Regions from separate parts of the Homo sapiens genome. Here all the other regions are linked to region 1. Evidence: promoter capture Hi-C in human tissues and cell types (Jung and others, 2019). All regions are on one chromosome and are shown on one strand. The core of a region is centred on a gene start or on the middle of the fragment in contact, and the rest is flanking DNA. Distances in the headings are between cores, read along the strand shown.

Region 1 (2,700 bases), core at 201-2,700:
TATCTTGATTTATCCCCAGACAGTACTGAAACCCAGAACCAGGGAAAAAACTGAAGGGTGGCTGAGGACACATTACCTTATAAAGTTTCCAAAGGGAAACCCTGACCCAAAAATATTCTGATAAGGTTTCTGTGGCTAGAGGCAATAAAAGGAAAGGAGGCACAGAACATTTTTTACAATACAGTGTCAGGGGATTATTCTTTGCTTTCTTCTCTTGGGAAATCTTTACAAACAGAAAACAAATCTTTTTTAAAATGCCAGCCAATGCTTTGTCAAAAAATGATTAATTAAAATATGGTACCTAAAATGTACACTAAAGTGTACATTAAAGGACAAATAGTTGATAATGTGAATTAGGGAGGGGAAATTGGCATTTGGGAATGTCAGAAGGAACTGGAAATTTAGTATTTTACTGCAAGCCAGAGTTAGGCTGGAGGAATGGGAAATGGGGAGAAGTCTTGAGACCCTGCTTGAGACAGAAGTGAAAAATGCAGAGGAAAATCAGTGCCCTGTGGAGTGTGAAAATAATTAAGTGGCAGGCAATTAGACTGAGGTGGCTCCAGTCCTAGGGTTGCTACTTGCAAAAAAATCTAACTCGAATGATTTTTTTCTAAAGTATTACATTGGGGGAAAATAAAATTCAGGCTTAACCAACTATAAACTGCCAATTAACCTCTCATTACATGACCAGGGAATTTCCACCTTGATCGTACAAATTAAGAAACTACATAACTTTACCTAACCAATTATTGAATTTGCTTTCCTTTATCATGCACTTTATAAAAGTGTTTTCTTCAAGCCCCTTCCATAAACCACAAACTACAAAACATAGCTTGGTGCTCTACAATTCTTGAATTACTCTTTAATTAAATTCTTTAATATTTCTGCGGAGACTTCCACAAATTTTTAATAGAAAAAAAGGGGGACTGGGAACCCCGCAGACCAAAGCTCTTCCCATTCATGAACTCTGCATCCTGAGTCAGTATTCTCCCCTGACGACCGTCCAGTGGTCCCTGCACAATCGGGGAGAGCTGCGGCAGTGGGGGCAGAGCTGCCCACAGAGGACTCCAGAACAAGGCACAGTCACTGCGCAGGGAGGAGACAGGATGCCCGGGGTCCGAGCTGTCAGCCCGGCCGCCATCCTATGGCTGAAGGGGACTGAGGGCCGAGCTGCGCCAAGGAGAACTCGGGGCCGCGGATTTTGGAGCCAGCTGCGGGGAGGCCAGAGTCCCGCCACAGCCACTTCCCACCAGTTCCAACCAGCCCCGCCCCCTCTCTCGGGATGTCGGACCCGGCACTCTCACCATTTCTAGGCTTCCAGTGGGTCCTGGCGTCTTAGCTGTGGATCTCCCAATACCTGCAGGTAACGAGGCCACAGAAGCTGGGCCTCTAGGAGCAGAAGACACAGAGCAGTGAAGACTACACCAGAAGCTCCGGCTGCCGCCAGAGACAAAGGCCCCACCAAACCCGGAAGCCGTCCTGTCTGCTCCAGCTGAGTGCCTGATTGGACGGGTCCCAGCCCAGCGTCCCTGATTGGATAATGTTTAGGGCCCCACCCTCTCAGGCCTTGATTGACAGAAGACGTGCTCAGATGCTGGGCTGAATGTAGAGTGAACCCTAAGCCTTTTCAGGCAGAGCTTCCTCCCTGAGCTGACCCAGGCCCTCCCCAGACGGCATTTGCCTTGTAAGGCAACCGTCTGAAATAAAATGTGAGCCATGTGTGAATTCTAAATTTTCTAGTAGTTAAGAAGAAAGAAGAAACAGGTGAAATTCATTCTAACCATTTAATAACCCAATATATCCAAAATATTATTTTAGTATAGGAGCAATATGTAATTATTAATGTAGTGTATATATTCTTGGAACTAAATCTTTAAATCTAACCCTGTATTTTACCTTTCTAGCACATCGCAGTTCAGACCAGCCATATTCCAGCTATCCTGTAGCCACACATGGCCAATAGCCACCACATTGAAGTGCAGCTCTGATTTCATACTTCCTCTCTCTCTCTCCTCAAACCTCCTGTGCTTCCTTCCCTCCCTCCCTTCTGCTAAGCTGATGCTCACTTCTCCAACGTTACTAGAAGCCCTCAGAGTGAATGTTCTTATCTTCCCACCATCCACCGACTGTGTCTCTGTTCCTTCCACTGTCACTGTGTAATAATTGCCCTTCTGCGGCTGGGCATGGTGGCTCATGCCTGTAATCCCAGCACTTTGGGAGGCTGAGGTGGGAGGACTGCTTGAAGCCAGGAGCTTGAGACCAGCCTGGGCAACATAGTGAGACTCCATCTCTACAAAAAAGTTTAAAAATTAGCCATGGGCTGGGTACGGTGGCTCACGCCTGTAATCTCAGCACTTTGGGAGGCTGAGGTGGGCGGATCACCTGAGGTCAGGAGTTCAAGACCAGCCTGGCCAACATGGTGAAACCCTGTCTCTATAAAAATACAAAAATTAGCTGGGCCTGGTGGCGTGCACCTGTAATTCCAGCTACTTGGGAGGCTGAGGCAGGAGGGTCACTTGAACCCAGGAGGTGGAGGTTGCAGTGAGCCAAGAACGCACCATTGCACTCCAGCCTGGGTGACAGAGCGAGACTGTGTCTCAAAAATAAAAATAAAAGTTAGCAAGGCGTGTTGGTGTGCACCTGTGGTCCCAGCTACTCAGGAGGCTGAGCTGGGAGGATAACTTGAGCTCACGAGTTCAA
Region 2 (2,700 bases), core at 14-2,513, 380 kb after region 1:
GTGTCTGTAAATTTGAAGGAGCAAACAGCTCTTCAGGTTTTTATAAACTGGTTTTAGAAGGTAAAGATCTTTTGTTGGGTTCCCACGGTGATGGGATGCCCTCTGGGTTTGTAGTGGAGAGGGGTGTAGCTTGGTCACAAGGCTGCTGGGTCTACACTAGGGTCCACCTTTACTGGCTTATTACAAGGGGCTTGGGTATTTGTAATTTCCATTTTATTTTTAGACAGACTGAATATCCTCCAGGACTTTGCTCTGTCGGGCAGACACTAGGGCAGGTTTCTGTAGTCGGGTCTGCATATAATGGACCTTGTATCAGGATGTGGATGAGTGTGGCTTTCACTGAGTACCAGAGAGGATTTCCCCAGGCCACTGTGTAGGTTTCTGTGTAGATATAACTGGCCATAAACTGTGGCTCAGAGAGTTGGAACTGAGTCATTAAACTGCTTCAGAGACCACAGTAAAGGCCAAGGTCTGCAAGCCGGCCTGCCTGCATGGCTATAAATGGTTGTCTTCCTCCAGGCCGCTGGAAGGGCAGGACCTTTTCCAGACTGTGGCTGGGAGAAGTTTGGGATGGTTGCAGAGTAAGTTCAGAATTCTCAGTGGGACCAAGTTTGGTGGGCCATTTTCTGGTCTGTAGCCAAGAACAGGAGTCCTTTAGTTTGCCGCCTGAATGAGGGCCTGCCTTCTAAAAACAACACTCCTCAATCTTGGGTTTAGCATTTCACAACTCCCTCCCTGGATCTCAAAGCTCTCTTAAAGGCGCTTATTTTTGAGATGGGGTCTTGCTTCATAACCCATTCTGGTCTTGAAATCCTGGCCTGAAGCAATCTCCAACCTCAATGTATGATAAAGCTTTCATTACAGGTGTGAGCCATGATGCCTGGCTCTCTCAAAAGGCCTTTTTATGAGGGATGGCTGACAAATTTTCTTGCTGTTGGAGGATAACAAAATAAGGCAACTTTTATTGTCCTATCTTCCTGATGTCACTCTTCCTATACATTTTTACTTTCTATTTTCTATTTCAAATTTGTCTGTAACTTTAGAATCAGACCTTTGGGACAATATGCTAGAATTTACATGTTATGCCTGAAGTAAATTAGATAATTTACTCCATAATTACTAAAATAGTTACTTATAAATTTAAGTTTGCGGCAGGCAAAAAGGAATAGTATTTTCACCCACTTTTTAGCCTATATCTAAGTAATAACATAATGTATCCCCCAAATATTTGTTTTATCTATCAGAGGCACTAACCATATTCAGCAAAATAAAAATTTTTTCTTTATTTGGCAACGTAAGGCTATTCTTTGCTTCTATAGTTGGATTGCAGCAGTTTCATCTAGTGTAAGAATAGCATATATTTAAAACATAAAAATTATCTCAATTTTTAAAAATGCTTACTTATTAAGTTTTTTATTAGAATCTTCTATGTATGGTTATACTGCATTTTCTCTGAAATTTTACTGCCATACAGTGCATGCCAGTGATTCAAATACTTGCCTTCCATGAGTACACAGTTACACTCAAATATTGCAGTTATCTAGACAAATTCTTTTTAATGGTACATCAATATTGCAAACCAGGTTTTATGAGTAAACATTTCTTTTAATGTTTTACAGTTCCATATTAGTGTTTTTTGTTTAGTGTAGGTTTCTTATCAGTTTTTGTTTCTTGTTTTTACGGTTTTAGCAATTTGCACTTCTGTTTGTACACTTTAAGTGAATGTTGGGTTTAACTGGGAAATAAGTCAGCCATATGTCCATCATAGTCTGATTATATATGTGTGTGTTTTTATCTATTAATATGACTTTAATTTTGGTTATGGCATATCTTGTGTATATTCTTTCTTAGCTGATTTTCAATGGTTGTTTTGTCTAAGTGAGTAGTCATGGAAATAGTCTTTCTACCATGTGTTTAATGATAAATATTGTATAATTTCCTTTGGGTAAGAGAAACATTTTTGTAATTTGAAGGTAATTTTTGGAAATATTTGTAATTCTATTTTTTTTTTTTTTAGTTTTTCTTTTAAAAAATAATTGTTGTAAAAACACATAACCTAAAATTTACCATCTTAAATCTATTTAAGTTTACATTTCATTGCCAGGCATGGTGGTGGCTCACATCTGTAATCCTCAGATTTTGGGAGGCCAAGACAGGAGCATCACTTGAGCCCACATTTTTTTTTTTTTTTGAGATGGAGTTTTGCTTTTGTTGCCCAGGCTGGAGTACAATGGTGTCATCTCAGCTCACCGTAACCTCCGCCTCCTGAGTTCAAGTGATTCTCCTGCCTCAGCCTCCTGAGTAGATGGGATTACAGGCATGTGCTACCATGCCTGGCTAATTTTGTATTTTTAGTAGAGACAGGGTTTCTCCATGTTGGTCAGGCTGTTCTCCACCTCCCGACCTCAGGTGATCCACCCACCTCAGCCTCCCAAAAGTGCTGGGATTACAGGAGTGAGCCACCGTGCCCGGCCAGAGCCCAAATGTTTGAGGCCAGCTTGGACAGCATGTGGAGACCCTCTCTCTACAACTTTTCAAAAAAATAGCCTGACATGGTGGTTGTCACCTGTGGTCCCAGCTACTTGGGAGATTGAGGGGAGAGGATTACTTAAGCCTGGAAGTTTGAGGCTGCAGTGAGCCTTAATTGTGCCACTGCACTGCAGCTTGGGTGACAAGTGGGACCCTGTCTCCAAAAAGCTG
Region 3 (2,700 bases), core at 148-2,647, 300 kb before region 1:
ATAATTCATACTGGAGAGAAACCTTACAAATGTAAAGAATGTGGCAAAGCTTTTAACCTATCCTCAACCCTTACTGCACATAAGAAAATTCATACTGGAGAGAAACCCTATAAATGTGAAGAATGTGGCAAAGCTTTTAACCAATCCTCAAACCTTACTACACATAAGAAAATTCATACTTCAGAGAAACCCTACAAATGTGAAGAATGTGGCAAATCCTTTAACCAGTTCTCATCTCTTAATATACATAAGATAATTCATACTGGAGAGAAACCCTACAAATGTGGAGATTATGGCAGAGCTTTCAACCTATCCTCAAATCTTACTACACATAAGAAAATTCATACTGGAGAGAAACCCTACAAATGTGAGTATGGCAAAACTTAATTGATCCTACAAGCTTACTACACATAGGAAAATTCATACTGGAGAGAAACTACAAATGTGAAGAATGTGTTAAAGCCTTTAACAAGTCTTCAACTTTTTCTGCACACACGAGGTATTTTATACTGGTGAGAAACCTTACAATGTAAAGAATGTGGCACAGCTTTTAACTAATCTTCAAACCTTACTGAAAGTTGAGAAAATTCGTACTGGAGAGAATCCTACAAATGTGAAAAATGTGGCAAATCCTTTAACTGATCCTCAACTTTTACTAAACATAAGGTAATTCATACTGGAGAAAAGCCATACAAATGAGAAGAATGTGGCAATGCCTTTAATCAGTCCTCACACCTTTCTACACATAAGATAATTTATACTGGAGAGGAACTCTATAGTTGTGAAGAATGTGGCAAAGCTTTTAACCAATCCTCATACCTTACTATACAGAAATTCATACTGGAGAGAAAGCCTACAATTGTGAAGAATGTGGCAAAGCTTTTAACCTTCCTTAACCCTTAACTGTAGATAAGAAAATTCATACTGGAAAGAAACCCTACAAATGTGAAGTCTGTGGCAAAGCTTTTAACTGATTCTCAACTCTTACTACATGTAAGAGTATTTATACTGGAAAGAAACCCTACAAATGTAAAAAACGTGGCAATGCCTTTAACTGGTCCTCACACCTTGCTACATATAAGACAGTTTATACTTTGAGAGAAACCCTGCAAATGTGAATAATGTGGCAATACTTTAAACCAATCCTCAAACCTCACTAAACATAAGATAATACTGAAAACTTTACAAACCTGAATGATGTGACAATAATTTTGACAACACCTCGAACTTTCTAACATAAATCATACTGGTGAAAAATCCTAGAAATGTGAAAAATATCACAAAGCCTTTAAATGGTTGTCACACTTGATTGTAGGTAAGAATCCATACTGAAGAAAACTCCTGGAAGTGTAAAAAATGTGGCAACACTTTTAATAAATGCTCACCCCTTATTGCACAGGAAAGCATTTATACTTCAGAAAGATTGTACAAATACAAGGAATGTGGAAAAGCCATTATTATCTGCTCAGATTTTACTCAACATTAGAGAGTTAGTACGTAATAAAAGCATTATAAATGCAATTTTTGTCAAGAGATCTTTCAGAAAATATAAGCCTTTAAAGTGAAGAAGAGGAGCCAGTTGTGCTGGCTCACATCTGTAATGCCAGCACTTTGGGAGGCCAAGGTGGGTGGATCACCTGAGGGCAGGAGTCTGAGACCAGCCTGGCCAACATAGCAAAACCCCATCTCTATTAAAAATTTTACAAAAATTAGCTGCGTGTGGTGGCAGGCCCCTGTAATCCCAGCTAATTGGGAGGCTGAAGCAGGAGAATTGCTCAAACCTGGGAGGCGAAGATTGCAGTGAGCTGAAATCACACCACTACACTCCAGCCAAAGCAACAAGAGCAAAAACTTCGTCTCAAAAACAAAACAAAAAAAGAGTATTCATTGTGAGGACAAACAATACAAATACGAAGAGGGTTGTAGTACCTTTACTTGTATCACAGATACTTTTGTACCCATTTTGCACTAGAGGAAAACCATGAAGCAGTTGCTCAAATGTTGTTCAACACCAGAAAATTTATATTGGAGAAAAGCACTGTAAATGTAATGCATTTGTGAAAACATTTTTTAAAAAACTACAGCTTAGAAAATACCAGAGGCCTCATACTAAAATATATTTTTGCAAGTGAAGTAAATATAAAAATAATTTAATCCAAAATTAAGTCTATATAAATATCAGAGAATTCACAGTAGAAATATCTAAGGTACTGACACTTCAGACATTGCTGAGTATAGAATCAGAATGCTGAGTATAGAAAATAATTTAAAACTAAAGTTGGTAGGTAAATAATGTGTATATAACTTTAAAAGAAGTAGAATTTTTTTGTAGATGTATAATTACATTCAAATTATATTTTTTCTTGAAAAATTAGTTTTTGAAAAGCAAATGATGTAATTCAACTCAAATTCATGCTCTTCATTCCTATTGTATTCACATGTGAAAGCATGTGATTAATTTTTCATGCATCAAAGATATGAGAAATCATTTCTGTTAGGTCGGTATTATTTATGACACTTTCTATGAAAGAATAAGGACATTAAAATGTAAGATGCATGATGAAAACCTGAGTGAAGAGGCTGTTTGTGTTTAACTTATAATATTGAGTGATCCATGAAGTAGGTTTTCAGAGCAATATTCTTCTGCATTATAGTAAGAGAAAACCATTTTTAATCTTAGTTAAAATTAAAGTGAATTAG
Region 4 (2,700 bases), core at 132-2,631, 330 kb after region 1:
CACTTCACCCCAGCGTGGGCTAAAGAGTGAAACTCCGTCTCAAGAAAAAAAAAAATTACCCAGTCTCGGGTAGTATGTTTTTTGTTTGTTTGCTTTGTTTTTGAGATAGGGCCTTGCTCTGTCACCCTGGATGGAGGGCAGTGGCATGATCTTGGCTCACTGCAACCTCTGCCTCCCAGGTTCAAGTGATTCTCCTGCCTCAGTCTCCTGAGTAGCTGGGACTACAGGTGTATGCCGCCATGCCCATCTAATTTTTGTATTTTTAGTAGAGACAGGGTTTTGTCGTGTTGGCCAGGCTGGTCTCGAACTTCTGACCTCGGGTGATCCACCTGCCTGACCCTCCCAAAGTGCTGGGATTACAGGCATGAGCTACTGTGCCTGGCCTCAGGTAGTATCTTTATAGCAGTGTGAAAATGAACTAATACAGGAAATTGGTACTGCATAGAGTAGGGTACTGCTATAAGGATACTTGAAAATGTTGAGATGACTATGGAACTGGGTAGTGGGCAGAGGTTGTAGGAATTTGGAGAGCTCAGAAGAAGACAGGAAGATGTGGGACAGTTTGGAGCTTCCTAGAGACTTGTTGAATGATTTTGACCAAAATGCTGATAGTGATGTAAACAATGAAGTCCAGGCTGAGGTGGTCTCAGATGGAGATGAGGAACTTATTGGGACCTAGAGTAAAGATCACTCCTGCTATGTTTTAGCAAAGAGGCTGGTGGTATTTTGCCCCTGCCCTAGAGATGGTGTGAAACTTCGAACTTCAGAGAGATGATTTAGGATATCTGGTGGGAGACATTTCTAAGCATCAAAGCATTCAAGATGTGACCTGGGTTATTCTGAAAGCATTCAGTTTTATGCATTCACAAGGAGCTCATTTAAAATCGGAACTTCCCAGCACTTTGAGAGGCTGAGGCAGGCGGATCACCTGAGGTCAGGAGTTCGAGACCAGCCTGGCCAACTTGGCGAAACTCCGTCTCCACTAAAAATACAAAAATTGGCCTGGGCACAATGGCTCACGCCTGTAATCCCAGCACTTTGGGAGGCCAAGGCAAGCGGATCACAAGGTCAGGAGATTGAGATTATCCTGGCTAACACTGTGAAACCCCATCTCTACTAAAAATACAAAAAAAATTAGCTGGATGTGGTGGCGAGCGCCTGTAGTCCCAGCTACTCGGGAGGCTGAGGCAGGAGAATGGCGTGAACCCGGGAGGTGGAGCTTGCAGTGAGCTGAGATTGTGCCACTGCACCATCCAGCCTGGGCAGCAGTGCGAGACTCCGTCTCAAAAAAAAAAAAAAAAAAAAGAAAAACAAAAATTAGCTAAGCGTGGTGGTGGGCGCTTGTAGTCCCAGCTACTCAGGAGGCTGAGGCAGGAGAATTGCTTGAACCCAGGAGGTGGAGGTTGCAGTGAGCCGAGATGGCGGAAATGCCTAGCTGTCTAGGCAGAAGTTCACTGCAGAGGTGGACCCCTCATAGCAAACCTCTGCTAGGGCAGTGTGGAAGGGAAGTTTGGGGTTGGAGCCCTCATGCAGAGTCAGCACTGGAGTACTGCCTAGTGGAGCTGTGAAAAGAGGGTCACCATCCTCCAGACCCTAGAATGCTAGATCCACCAACAGCTTGCACCACGCACCTCAAAAAGCCAAAGACACTTAATGCCAGCCTGTGAAAGTAGCCAGGGGGCAAGGGCTGTACCCTGCGAAACCACAGGAGTGAAGCTCGCCAAGGCTGTGGGAGCCCATCTCTTCTTTCCTCAGTGTGACCTGGATGTGAGACACGAAGTCAAAGGAGATTATTTCAGTGCTTTAAGATTTAATGACTGCCCCACTGGATTTCAGACTTAAGTGTGGCCCGTAGCCCCTTTGTTTTAGCCAATTTCTCCCATTTGGAATGGGAGCATTTATCCAGTGCCTGTACCTCCATTGTATCTTGGAAGTAACTAACTGGCTTTTAATTTTACAGGCTGCTGGGCAGAAAAGACTTTCCTTTTCTCGAATGAGACTTTGGACTTGGACTTTTGGGTTAATGCTGGAATAAATTAAGACTTTGGGGAACTGTTGTGAAGGCATGATTTGTTTTAAAATGTCAAAGAGATATGAGATTTGGGAGAGGCCAGGAGTGGAAGGATATAGTTAGGCTTTGCATCCCCACTCATATCTCATCTTGAATTGTAATCCCCAGGTGTTTACGAAGAGACCTTGTGGGAAGTGATTTGATTATGGGGTGGTTTCCCCCATGCTGTTCCTGTGATAGTGAGTGAATGCTCATGAGACCTGATGGTCTTATAAGGCAGTTTTCCCTGTTCTTCCATGCTCTAGCTCACCTGCTGCTGTGTAAGACATGCCTACTTCTGCTTTCACCATGATTACAAGTTTCCTGAGACCTCCCCAGCCATGCAGAACCGTAAGTCAATTAAACCTCCTTTGTTTACAAATTACCCAGTCTTGGTTAGTATTTTTATAACATTGTGGGAATGGACTAATACTGTCTGTTTTGTTAAAAGACTAAGTTTCAATTGGGAGCCAAGATGACTGACTAGACACAGCCAGGGGAAACAACTGACAAGACACTGAGACATTGAAATTTCCATCCCATTCTGAGCCTATCTTCAGATGAAATGCATTGCAAGTGGGCAGAGGGAGGACACAGATGCTGGAAACCCTTCATGGTGTACCAAGTACTAGGAACTTAAGTCCACTTTT

What was found. Contacts are between HindIII fragments. The study calls those that stand out against the background at their distance.
Region 2: a contact is called between a fragment that was not itself captured here and the fragment with the promoter of ERV3-1 in region 1, in 2 of the 25 tissues and cell types used here (heart right ventricle and mesendoderm cells).
Region 3: a fragment that was not itself captured here is called in contact with the fragment with the promoter of ERV3-1 in region 1 in 2 of the 25 tissues and cell types used here (mesenchymal stem cells and mesendoderm cells).
Region 4: a contact is called between a fragment that was not itself captured here and the fragment with the promoter of ERV3-1 in region 1, in 1 of the 25 tissues and cell types used here (lymphoblastoid cells).

What each region holds. Positions count from the first base shown.
Region 1 is chr7:65,005,237-65,007,936 of GRCh38, forward strand. It overlaps ERV3-1 (endogenous retrovirus group 3 member 1, envelope), which reads right to left and starts at 1,451. Exons shown (of 2, transcript NM_001007253.4): 1 at 1,305-1,451. ERV3-1-ZNF117 (ERV3-1-ZNF117 readthrough) reads right to left here and starts at 1,510. Exons shown (of 4, transcript NM_001348050.2): 1 at 1,305-1,510. RefSeq lists an enhancer at 1,382-1,441 and a silencer at 1,542-1,711. The HindIII fragment of the contact is 15,538 bases long and covers 1-2,700 here.
Region 2 is chr7:65,390,363-65,393,062 of GRCh38, forward strand. The region is part of intron 3 of ZNF92 (zinc finger protein 92); the gene reads left to right. Among named protein-coding and RNA genes, the nearest start is that of ZNF92, 18 kb to the left of the region's middle. The HindIII fragment of the contact is 6,786 bases long and covers 1-2,700 here.
Region 3 is chr7:64,708,270-64,710,969 of GRCh38, forward strand. It overlaps ZNF107 (zinc finger protein 107), which reads left to right. Exons shown (of 4, transcript NM_001282359.2): 4 at 1-2,700. The coding sequence ends at 387. Among named protein-coding and RNA genes, the nearest start is that of MIR6839, 31 kb to the left of the region's middle. The HindIII fragment of the contact is 5,049 bases long and covers 1-2,700 here.
Region 4 is chr7:65,336,216-65,338,915 of GRCh38, forward strand. It overlaps LOC105375334 (a long non-coding RNA gene), which reads left to right. Exons shown (of 6, transcript XR_927613.3): 5 at 2,317-2,401. Among named protein-coding and RNA genes, the nearest start is that of ZNF92, 36 kb to the right of the region's middle. The HindIII fragment of the contact is 7,550 bases long and covers 1-2,700 here.